Regions from separate parts of the Homo sapiens genome. Here regions 2 and 3 are each linked to region 1. Evidence: promoter capture Hi-C in human tissues and cell types (Jung and others, 2019). All regions are on one chromosome and are shown on one strand. The core of a region is centred on a gene start or on the middle of the fragment in contact, and the rest is flanking DNA. Distances in the headings are between cores, read along the strand shown. Region 1 overlaps CTNNBL1 (catenin beta like 1). Region 2 holds the start of TGM2 (transglutaminase 2). Region 3 holds the start of KIAA1755.

Region 1 (4,074 bases), core at 1,060-3,559:
ATCTCCCCAGTCTTTCCTTTTGTAAAGTTGTTGAACCGATATCCTATTTAAAATTGTGTTTTGGGGGTAGCTCTCTTTATTACTGGTCACTGTCTTATAAAACCAGAGATGACATATCTGTAAACAGAGCTTGAGAAATGAACAAGGCCCAGTGGAAGCAGAAAATTTGATGAGATTAGATTTTTTTTTTTTAGCTTCTTTGTGTACCACAGATTTCTATTGTAGTTCTGGACTCTGTTCCCTGAGGATTATCATAAAGAAGGGGAAACATGGGCACCTGGGGGGAAGAGGAGGAACACAACACTCTGTAATTTGGGTTGGCTGTAGTCTAGAGCCAGAATTTGGCATTGCCATTTGTTAGCAGAGTGCTGGATTTTGCGGTATCAAAAGTCTGTTAACTGACTGCTAACTGTCTGTTAATAAAAAGTACCAGCCTGCCAGTCTACAGAGATCTATTTGCAGCTCGGTCAGCTACTAACAGCTCAGGAGAGTCTTCCCTCTCTCTCACTTATTGAGTGCCTGATGTTTGTCAGGCACTGTGCTAGGTACTAGGGTAGATTATGGTGAAGTAGGCATGGTTCTGCTCCTGACAGGGCAGACAGATAGGTGAGTCTTGAAAAGAAAGGAAAGACAATGCTGGGTGACAGACGGTATCGTAGGAGTCAGTGAAAAGCACTGTGGGAATGAAGAGGAAGAGCCTCCAAATTGCTGGATAGGAGCAGCTAGCTCCTGTGCATGACTGTGGCTGAATATGAAGACAGGTGCATTTTGACAGGTGGAGGAGTGGGAGAAGGGCCTTCATGAGGGGAGTATCATTTGCAAAGTCATGAATGGGGCTGGGATTTGAGGAAAGACTAGAAATGGCCTGTGACAGTCAGAGGTGGGAGATGGAACTGGAGGAATAAGTTTGTCCAGATAATGGAAGACCTTGTAAACCATGGCAGGAAGCTTGGATTTTGTTCGAGTGAACAATAGGAAGCCATCTAAAATATAAGCAGAAGAATAGGATAAAGTCATGGAAGATTAAAACGAATGAGTTGATTTTTGTAGGAAATGGCAGAAAGTAATTCAGGGTGTCGTAGTGCTCTTCATCTCTCAGGGTTTCCTTGCTCCTCTGCTCCCACAGCTTCGTGCTTCCCCTGCCTGGTCATCCTTTAACTTGCCACTGGGGAGGCTGATGTGGGCAAAGGAGTGAGAAAGAAGACAGGAGGTGTGGTGATTTCTTCAGCCCTTTCTCCTTCAAAATTCACACCCAATGTGTTCTGGGTATTGTGTTTAGGGAACACAGAAGTGTATCTGTTTCATGCTAGTAACATATTCCAGGATACGGATTGGAAGGGGGGCTGAAAGAAATGAAACCATTTGATATTAAGGACTCTAGGTGATTAAAAAAAAAGAGATCTCCTTTTTCGTATCATAGTCATGCAATAACTTTTTTTTCCTCCTAATTTTTAATTTTTCTATTAAGCAACACTTTGGCTGTTGTAGGAGATAGCAGGACCAATTATATTTGCTTCCTAGTACCTGGGAGTTACCTCTGCCAGCATGGCCTTTCCCCTCTGTGCATGTTATTTTGTTCAATTAAAAAGACCATGCTTGCCTGCTTTGCAATATTCTTGCTTCCACCTGATGCAGGGAAATAGAACTGCAAATGGATGAATCAGGAAAGGAAGCGACTCTTGAGTTCACCAGACCCTGAGTTTTCCCTAAGGCTTTTGCCTAGCTCCCAATCTCTTTGGTTATGGGTTTCTGGGACTCATTAGGGACTGGGTGGGACTTCTTAGGTAGATACCCACCCTTTTGTGTGTTCCGCTCTAGTGTTGTTCCCTATTAGCATGGAAAATCTATCACTTAGCTCTTTTGTGAGTTCCATCATTTTCAGTTATGAGTTTTACCTGTAGCATAACTGGAAGAAGAAAACCACAGCAACTCCCTGGTTAATCTGAAAATGACAACCCAGCATCTGGCTGGGAGTAATGCAGGGAAGTGGGGAGAGGAATAACATGCCTGTCATGGGAAGCAAGCTTGTTGCAGATGGAAACAAAGTTGTCCTCCCAAATGACTGGTGTCTGTCTCCCTTCAGCTATTGTGGAAAACATGGCTGAGTTCCGGCCTGAGATGTGTACAGAGGGTGCCCAGCAGGGTCTTCTACAGTGGCTGTTGAAGAGGCTGAAGGTGAGTTTGGCTGTGGGGAACTGCAGCTCACACCTGTCTTTGCTCTGGGCTTGATTGATGCTGGGTTATTGGCATAGACTGTTATGCTGGGCCATATGATCTAGTTTGGGAAGCTTCTGGTACCTCTTGCTTCTTTCTTCTCCGTTTTTGTTCGTTTTAAAACAAGAGGCTTTAAAAATAGTCTTTAGTACCTCTGAAAATACAAACGTTATAAATACAAATTCATGTGATACAAAAGGTATAAAACTGAAAAGATCCCCTCTGCTGATCCCTTGTAGTTCCACTTCTCAGAGGCAGTCACTGTTAACAATATTATATCCATTCTCTCAGAAATTTTCTGTGTATATGAGAGAGTGTGTGTTTCACAAACAGAATTATGTAATATTTTCTTATGCAAGTTGATTTTCTCACTGAACTAATTATTGCCTAGTTAGTATTCCACTATGCTGATGTACCAAAATTAATCTCATCATTCCCACTGGTAAGTTTGTAGTGTTATAAACAGTGCGGCTGTGAATACAGTAGTCCCCTCTTATCTGTGGTTTTGCTTTCTGCGTTTTAGTTACTCACAGTTAACCATGGTCTGAAAACAGGTAAATATAGTACTAAAAGGTATTTTGAGAGAGAGACCACATTCACAAAACTTTTCTTACAGTATGTTGTTATAATAGTTCTATTTTATTATTGTTGTTAATTTCTTACTGTGCCTAATTTAGAAACTTTTTTTTGTTTTTTTGTTTTTTCTTTTGAAACTGAGTCTCACTCACTCTGTTGCCCAGGATGGAGTACAGTGGCATGATCTTGGCTCACTGCAACCTCTGCCTCCCGGGTTAAGGTGATTCTCCTGCCTCAGCTTCCCGAGTAGCTGGGATTACAGGTGTGCGCCACCACGCCTGGCTAATTTTTGTATTTTTAGTAGAGACGGGGTTTCACCATGTTGGCCAGGCTAGTCTCGAACTCCTGATCTCAAGTGATCCACCCGCCTTGGTCTCCCAGAGTGCTGGGATTACAGGCGTGAAACACCGTGCCTGGCCTATAAATTAAACTTTATTATAGGTACATATATAGGAAAAAAACATAGTAAATACAGAATTTATCTGTAGTTTCAGGCATCCACTGGGGGCCTTGGATCCTATCCCCCACAGATAAGGGAGGGACTGCTGTATACAGACTTTTTAAAATATACATTTGTCTCAGTTTATCTGTACGATAAATTCATAGAAGTAGAATTGATAGGCCAAAGGCTATGCACCTTAACATTTTTTGTAGTATTGCAAAATTATTCCCACTGATTTATCATATCCCACTGATAAATCAGCTGCCCCACTGATTTAGAGTTATCTGTTTCCCTCTGCTTCTAGTTAATCTGATAGTGAAAACTGGTATTATTTTAATTTGTAATTTTAACATCAAGTGAAGTGTGTTGGCTTCTTGTTGATTAGCCATTTGTATTCATGTCTTTTAGCTTCATATTTATATTCTTTGTCCATATTTCTATTGAATTGTTCATTCTCTTAGCATAGTCCTTGTGATTGTCTTTTTAACAGTTAGTATTGTCTAATAGAGTAAATGAGAAAAAGAAGAGGCAAGAGCTCCTCTCAGAACAGTTTGGACCAAAGGTGTGATGGGAGGCAGTTTGGAACTGCTTATATGCTATTGAAATGGCCCTCAGGCAGGCAAGGATCCTAACTTTTTGTGAGAAGGAGGCACTTGTTTGTAACTAAAGTAATGCTCTAAGTAATGGCCTTGCTCTGCTTCAGAATGTCACAAGCATCCAGAAAGTCTGGGGTGTATCAGGTCAGATTTGTCCTCCACTGTCTTGGCAGGGCTAAAGGAGAAGGTTCTGCCTAAGATATCATATGCTGCATGGTTTTCTCCGTTTCTGACACTCTAGTCTTC
Region 2 (3,930 bases), core at 1,431-3,930, 400 kb after region 1:
TGGATCTTGATTTCAAAAAAGTATTTTAAAACATTTATTACATGTATGAGACAACTGGAAATTTAAATACTGATGGCATAATGGTGATATCAAAGAATTTTTGTTAATTTGTTTGTGTTAAAAAAAAGAGAGTCCTTATCCTTTAAAGGCATATACTGAAACATTGACAGATGACATGATGTGATGTCTGAGATGAAGGTGCGCAGGGGCAGGAGACACCACGGTGGTCAGTGCTGGGTGATGAGGACATAGGAATTTATTAAACAATTCTGTCTATTTTTGTGTATGTTCAATATTCTCCAAAACAAAACATTTTTAACATGATAGGTGCTTTGGAGACTTCCAGAGGTAGGTTTTAGTTCTGCTGTGTTGCTGTGTGAGCCTGGATAAGTGTCTCTCCCTCTCTGTGACTCCTCCTCTGAAGTCTCAAGGGGCTGCTGTGAGTCTAGAAGATGTGTTGGGAACCCCCTTCCCCACGGCCCAGCCCAGGACAGAAGCTTGATACGTGAAAGTTCCATTTACAGTTTCAGATGGAGCAGAGGACCAGGGCACGGTCAGGGTGACAGATGGGTGGGGGTCTTGGGGGAAAACAAATCTCATAAACCTTGGCAAGCTCAAGGTCAGGATGGGGAAGCCCTTAAGGTGGGAGGAGTGGGCAAGACAGACTCTGAGTGTGGAGCCACTGGACAGCATGTGGTCCAAGTGAGGCCCAGGGGCAGGAATTTGTTCAAAGTCACGCCGCAAGTTGGTCCTTGCAGTGGGAGAGCCCAGGTCTCCTGCTCACCATCGACTATTCCAAAAATGAGATGCAAAGTGCCTTGTATGTGAATTATCTCGACTTAAATCCCAAAACAACTCCGCTTACATAGATGCTATCATGATTCCCATTTTGTAGACAAAGACACCAGGTGGCTCCAGGTCCCAGAGCAAGTGGCTGCTTTGGGATTGGAATCCAGAGCTGTAGGATTCTGTAGGATTCTGCCCTGGGAACCACCTCACTACAGCTCAGTTTTTTCTCCAGCCCCTCTTATGACCACCCCTTCGCCACCATGTCCTGTGTTGTTCTCAAACCTGGGGGCAGATAGTTCTGCGCCACTGAAGTATCAGGGATGTCGGTCCCCGTGTAATCACAACAGAAGAGACCTCAGTGGCCAGAAGGAAAAACTTCCTGCTGGCCTATTGCGGCGAGGAAATGTTTTTGGAAACTTCAGACCCAGGGAGCTTGAGCAGGAAAGAGGCCATTGTTGTTCCCATGGAAGACCCTGGAGATACGGCCAGTCCCTGGGCTGTGGGAGCTGGGGCATTTTCTCCATCTGTTGTCCGAAGAAGGGTTTCCAGAAATCACGCCCAGCTCCAAAGATGCAGGTCTAGAATTGTAGGATTTATAGGATTTCTGCACTTAGAAAGGGCCTAGGCCTTCTAGGCCAGTGAGACCTCTGTCAGAAGTGGCCACTGTGACATGGGGCTGGAGGCTCATCATAACTGGCATCTCCAGGATCTCCCAGCCCCACTGAGCCCTGCTTTTGAGCATGGGGGTGAGAAGATGCATTGAGGACAAGCGGCCACCGAGGCGACACATCACAGTGTGTTGGGAGCTGGGCCCGAGGGAGGCAGGTGGCTGAGATCACACAGCAGGGTCAGGTGGGTCCACAGTTCCTGCCACCCATTCCTGCTCCACCTGCCCCATGTCCCTGTCCCACACCCCTTCCTGGGGGTTGCAATGGGTGCAGAAGCCATCCCCAGATGAACTTGACCCAAGAGCCAGCTGGGATTCTGGGTCCAGCAGTGACATCCTCCATTGTAGAAATCCCTCCAGCTGGGACCTACGAGAGTGCTGCTTGTGTGTGGGGAGGGAGTCAGGGGCACCAGTATGAAATTAGTTAAGCCTCTGTTCCACTCCTCTCGTTCCTCACAGATGCACCAAAGGCTGGAGCAGAGGACCAGGGCACGGTCAGGGTGACAGATGGGTGGGGGTCTTGGGGGAAAACAAATCTCATAAACCTTGTCCTATAAAATAAGGACACTGTTGTCCTTATTTTATAGGTGAGACTCAACAATTGGCCAAGGTCTAGGGTTGCAGAACGTGAGGGCGGGAAGAACAAGCCTGATTTCCGAAGGCTCCTGGATAGGATGCCGAAAGCTCCTCTCTGGCCGCTGGAGCCAAGGACTCAGCCAGGCTTGGCTTGCACACCACCGGCGTGGCATGCACACCACCTGGTCCTGGCTGGCAAGAACCACCCAAACCTAAGTGTTCTGAGGCCAGGCCAGCACCCCCTGCACAGCTCCAGGCACACATCAGAGAGCCAGCCCCCACTGACTGACTGAGGACACGTGCCAGTGGTCCGCCAGGACAGTACTTTACAGTTTACAACACCCCGTCGCGTTCCATTGCCTCACCTGATCCAGGGAGGCAAGGGTTAATGGTTATGCAGTGTGGATGGGGAAACTGAGGCTCCAAGCAGCATTGAGACGCCTCCTCACCCAGCCCGGTCTGCCTGTTGCTCTCCAAATCAGGACTTAGGGATTCAGCTCCCACCGGGTCCTGACCCCCAATGCCCCGGGGCCCCTGAGTGGCGGCTGCGGTGACTCTGATACTCACCCTCGGCCATGGTCGGGCGGGGGCGGTGGCTCCTTCCACTGGCGGCGAGACCCTCCAAGTGCGACCACTGGCGGCTGGCACTGCCGAGGCGGAGAGCGGCGCTAACTTATAGCCCGCTTTGGGGCGGGCCGGGGGCGGGGCCCCGCGGGAAGGCGGCGACCTGGGAGGCCACCCATTGCCCAGTCCCGGGCCCACGCCGCCAGCGCTGGGGCTCACCCAGGGGACCGGAGCCCGAGGGAGGGACGGCGGCCGGACGAGGGCGCCCCCTGGGGGAGCGGACAGGGACACACAACTAGCCCAGGATACAGACACACCTGGACCCACAGACTCAGACCTTGGAGAACAGACACCTGGACACACACACTCAGATACAGACACACGCAGCACCCTCATAGAAACACACAACGGAACCGGGGTGCACCTGGACACACAGATGTGGACTCTTAGGTCAGATCTGGGATCAAGAACACCTCCCCACCCCCAACACACACACACACACACACACACACACACGCACACACTCACACACATACTCAGATATACATACACAGAGAGCAGACGCAGACACACCAAGACAGGGCTGTGGAGATACACACACAAACACAGATACACTCCCACAGATACACCAAACACGGCTGGCCACGCAGACACAGTGACATGGATACAAATTCAGATTCGAATGGCAGACACACACCAGGACATAGATACAGCCTGACACAGCCAGGTAGCCTTGACCGCGAGCCACACACAGCTGTGGACACAGATGAGCAGGTGTCCAGAGGCACCTGGCACACACACAGACCTCCTAGACACCAATGCCACTGTCAGATGTGGACGCAAAATCAGAGAGGGCACCCACAGACACACAAAGATGTGGCTACTCAGAGGTAGACACACATGCAGGCATGGACTCAGGTACAGACATGCAGACACACCTGCAAAAACAGACACACCCATGTCCCTTCCTGTAGCAAAACCCAGATAATCCTCCGATCTCACCCATCCTTGTATCTGTCTAATCAGCCATCCATCTAATCAGCCATCCATCTACCCATCCATCCACTCACCCATGCATCACCTACCCCCCCACCTATCCATCCACTCATCCCTTCATCCATCCCTCCCTCGGCCTTCTCTTCCCTCCCTCCCTCAATCCATCCATCCACTGAGCTTTCTTGAGGCCCCACTGTGTGCCAGAAAGGAGCAAGACTAACTTTCCAGGGACTCAGCCTAGGACTTCTCGAACCTGGCAACCAGGGGTCCTATCTCTCATCCTGGTATCTCTGGTCTCTTGGTCTCCTGTGCTTCCGGATCCACTGTGAGCCCTGAGC
Region 3 (4,124 bases), core at 543-3,042, 490 kb after region 1:
GAAAGCAGGAGAGGCTTGGCAAACACCAGGTGCACGCTGTGGCCCTGGAGTGACCATGACCGCCGAGTGCAGGCTCAGAATTCAGACTGTCCTAACTTGCACTTTCTGGGTGGGGTGACCTTGGGCAGCTACTTAAGTTCCCAGAGCCTGAGGTCCCCATCTGTTGGAGATAGCCGCAGGTCTAATCTTAGAGTTGGTATGAGTTACTGACTCCTGGATGTAAATCACCTAGCACAGGGCCTTGCCTGTAGGGAGAGGTGAATAACCACTGGCTTATGAGAGTATTTTCAAACAGCTCCAAGAGCCATGTGTGTGTACACCTGTCCCCGCAGTGCATGGATGTAGGTGCCCGGTTTTGCAATATGTCTGTGGTGTGTATGCCAATGTATGCCCATAGTTTAGCAGTATGGGGGAGCAGGTGCAGAAGGCATGGGTGTATGAGAGGGTGTGAACATGTGTTCAGCTGTGTGAGTCAGTGGGAGCATTCAGGTGTGCTCTGTGCGTGCATGTGTATGTGTGTGTGCATGTGTACGTGTGTGTGCATGTGTACGTGTGTGTGAGTGCCTGCGTGTGTGTGTGTGTGTGTGTGAGAGAGAGAGAGAGAGAGTATGAACACCTCTATATGGAATTCTTCTGCTTGTGGAGATGCATTTGCTGTGAGTGAAAACCCACACAAATTCAACATGGTTGGTCACAGTCACAGGGTTAAAGCCTTGGCCTGTCTTCACAGCTTTTTTCAAAATCCTTACAGCCCCTGTGAATCTGCCTGGGGCTCTTGTATCTGTCTGGAGCTGGGCTGAAATCCTCCAAAAACAGACTTTTCTTTCATTCCCTGTTGCCAGATACTGGCACAAACGCATCCCTGCCACCACCACCACCACACACACACACACACACACACACACACACACATTCTCCCAGAATGTCTCAACTTTTTTCAAGGTTCCAGCTCCAAAAGTCCCTTCCTCTTCCCTCTCCCCAGCCAATTCCCATGGAAGCACCCTGGGTTTCAATGTGTATATCTGACTTTCCATAGCTGAGTCTAAAACAGCAAAAGCATCCCAAGTTTTGGTAAGCAGTTCTCTCCTTTTCACCCTGGACCCTTAACCCTCCTCGCCCTGCACTGCCTGGCTGGCCTGGGAGGGGACTTTAACCCCCACCACCACTCTTCCCCATCCAAACTCCCTGCCGGGACAATGTGCATATCACAGTCAGTTCCAAAACAAACATGCAAAACCACCCCGTTTCAGCCCTCAGCCTCAGGGCTGAGATTCAGGCTCAGGTCTAGGGGTTGGGGAATATTAAAGTTTACAAGTACAATCTTACTCCATCCATACACACACATGGAGAAGCCAGGAGAGGACGCGGCCAGAGATGGGCTCCTGCCCTTGAACCCCTGCTGGGGTGGAAGCAGGTAAGCACAACCCTGCCAAGGCACTGAGGGTCGTCTCAGTGTAAAAGGCCAGGGCCACCCGGGGCTGTTCTGCAGGGAATGGGGAGGGCTGTGCCCACTGAAAGGGGGCAGAGCGAGGTGGTCCAGGCCTTGGCGCGTTACCATGGTGACGGGCTGCCAGCGGCGGGCGGCGCGGCTCCTCTCCTGGGCGCGGGGTCTGTGGGTCCGCGGGTCCGTCTGTCTGGGGCAGCCCTCGGTCCCGCCTAGCCCTGGAGCCAGGGGATAGGGCAGGCCCGGGGCACCGACCCCGGCGTCATCTCGGAGGAGCGGCCGGGGAGGACAGGGAGAGAGACTGAGAGAGAGACAGAGAGGGACTGAGGCTGGAGACGGCGAGAGACATAAGGGAGCCGCGGGCGGCGCGGGTCGGGCCACCAGACGGGGGGCGGCAGCAGAGGCGGGGCGGGGCGGGGCGCGGCGGGACAGCGGCCCCTTTGTGCCTGAGCCCTTTGTGCCCAGCCCGCGCGCCCCGCCCCCACCGCCCCCCCTTCCCTCCGTCCACCCCCTCAGCAGCCAGCTGGAACCCGAGGAACCCGAGTCCGCCCCGCCAAGTTTTCCTCCCCGCTCCTCGCTCTTCCCACGGCGCACCCGGCCCGGACAGCCCCATTGTACAGACCCGCAGAGCGAGGCCTCGAGCCGCAGCAGCCGGGTTAAGCGCCCGCGGACCTCGCTGGCAGGCCCAAGTTCGAGTCTCCTCCTCCTACACTTCCCAGGGAGTCACAGACTCTCTTAAGCTTCGATTTCTTCATCTGTAAAATGGGGTGGGAGGAGGATGATGATGATGATGATGATGATGATGATGATGATGATAGTGCCTGCTGCTTAGATTTGGTGATGAGGAGTAAGCATCTGTCCCAGCGCCCTTGAATTCTCCCACATTATGCCCCATCATGACGGCCTAATTCAAGGCTTTGAGGTGATGATGGCTGTGTGCGAGTTCTGTTCTTGACTCTCAGATAATGACCTTGGCCAAGTCGGTATTTCCTACTGAGCCTCAGCTTTGGAGTGAGACTAAGAAACTAGATGACCGCTAGGGTCTATATGTGTGTGTCCCCTCCCAAATTCGTATGTCCAGACCTAATCCTCAGTATGATGGCATTAGGAGGTGGGGCCTTTGGAAAGTGATTGGGTCATGAGAGGACAGAGCCCTCACGAATGGGATTAGTGCCTCTCTCTATATATATATATACACCTACATATATATACCTATATATATACATATATACACCTATATATATACATATATACACCTATATATATACATATATAGGCACTAATATGTATAGGCATATATACACACACATATATATACACACACATATATATACACACATATATACATATATATACACACACACGCACACACATATATATTTGAGATGGAGTCTCACTCTGTTGCCCACCCAAGCTGGAGTGCAGTGGCATGATCTCAGCTCACTGCAACCTCTACCTCCCAGGTTCAAGCAATTTTCCTGCCTCAGCCTCCCGAGCAGCTGGGATTTTAGGCACCCGCCACCACACCTGGCCAATTTTTGTATTTTTAGTAGAGACTGCATTTCGCCATGTTGGCCAGGCTGGTCTCGAACTCCTGACCTCAGGTGATCTGCCCACCTCACCCTCCTAAAGTGCTGGGATTACAGGCGTGAGCCACCATGCCCAGCTTAGTGCCCAAGAGGCCCCAGAGAGCTAGCTGCCTTGCCCCTTCCACCATGGAAGGACACAGCGAGAAGGGGCTGTCTATGAACCAGAAAGGCCCAGAAACATAAGGTCCAGAAAGAAGGCTCTTACCAAACACCCAACTTGCTTGTGCCTTGATCTAGGGCTTCCCAGCCTCCAGAACTGTGAGAAGAGAATTTCTGTTGTGTATAAGCCCCTCAGTCTAAGGTATGTTGTTATAGCAGCCCAGACTAAAACAGTGACCAAAGTTATTCCTGGTTAGATGGCTCAGGGTTTTGTCCATTTATTTATCAAACACTGTGCACTGAGTCAGCCTGTCTCCCCCACTAGACTATACATTACTTGAGAGTCCCGGCCCTCAAGTAATGTACAGTCTAGTGGGGGAGACAGGCAAGGAGCAGATAAACAGGAAAAATAAAAAAATAATAACTGTGGTAACTGCTAAGAAGGAAACAAACAAATGTTGACATTGGGAACAGTAGAGGGATCAACTTATAGCTGGTGGTCTAGGAAGCCTGGGTCTGAAAGCCTAGATCTGAAAGGGGAGGAATTAGAAGAGTGGAGATGGGGAGACGCAGAGGAACCAAGTTCTAAGCAGAGAGAACCGCATATGCAAAGGCTCTGAGGCAATATTAAGCTTAAAGGAGCTGGGGAGTAAGTGAAGAACTGAAAAAGACGAGTGTAGTTGTAAGGGTTAGAGTTCAGACCCAAGCCTTATTCACAGCCCATCTCCCACCCCACATAGGTTAATCAGTCTTTTAGCAGAGAAAACCTGAATTAGGAGCCATCCTATCCCAACTTTTGATAAGTTCCTTCACATCCCCGACCTTCACTTGCTTATCACTAATTTGGGACTAATAATCCCCTGCAATATTTCCACAGCCCAGCAATCAAGTAAACTCTCTCTACAGGAGATGGTCTGGATGGTTTTAGTATCATGACTCCAGATGTGAATTTAGGAGAGAACAGACTTGATGTTCAGTACAGAATTCCACTG

What was found. The method cuts DNA at HindIII sites, captures the fragments that hold promoters and counts their contacts. A contact is called where the count stands out against the background at its distance.
Region 2: the fragment with the promoter of TGM2 here is called in contact with a fragment that was not itself captured in region 1 in 1 of the 25 tissues and cell types used here (dorsolateral prefrontal cortex).
Region 3: the fragment with the promoter of KIAA1755 here is called in contact with a fragment that was not itself captured in region 1 in 2 of the 25 tissues and cell types used here (H1 embryonic stem cells and heart left ventricle).

Annotation. Positions count from the first base shown.
Region 1 is chr20:37,765,870-37,769,943 of GRCh38, forward strand. It overlaps CTNNBL1 (catenin beta like 1), which reads left to right. Exons shown (of 16, transcript NM_030877.5): 7 at 2,084-2,175. Among named protein-coding and RNA genes, the nearest start is that of CTNNBL1, 74 kb to the left of the region's middle. The HindIII fragment of the contact is 4,841 bases long and covers 1-4,074 here.
Region 2 is chr20:38,162,590-38,166,519 of GRCh38, forward strand. It overlaps TGM2 (transglutaminase 2), which reads right to left and starts at 2,681. Exons shown (of 13, transcript NM_004613.4): 1 at 2,600-2,681. The coding sequence starts at 2,609. RefSeq lists a silencer at 2,534-2,973. The HindIII fragment of the contact is 7,409 bases long and covers 1-3,930 here.
Region 3 is chr20:38,258,943-38,263,066 of GRCh38, forward strand. KIAA1755 reads right to left here and starts at 1,793. Exons shown (of 14, transcript NM_001029864.2): 1 at 1,556-1,793. The coding sequence starts at 1,558. It overlaps LOC149684 (a long non-coding RNA gene), which reads left to right and starts at 1,233. Exons shown (of 2, transcript NR_104170.1): 1 at 1,233-1,414. RefSeq lists an enhancer at 1,551-2,050. The HindIII fragment of the contact is 8,345 bases long and covers 1-2,974 here.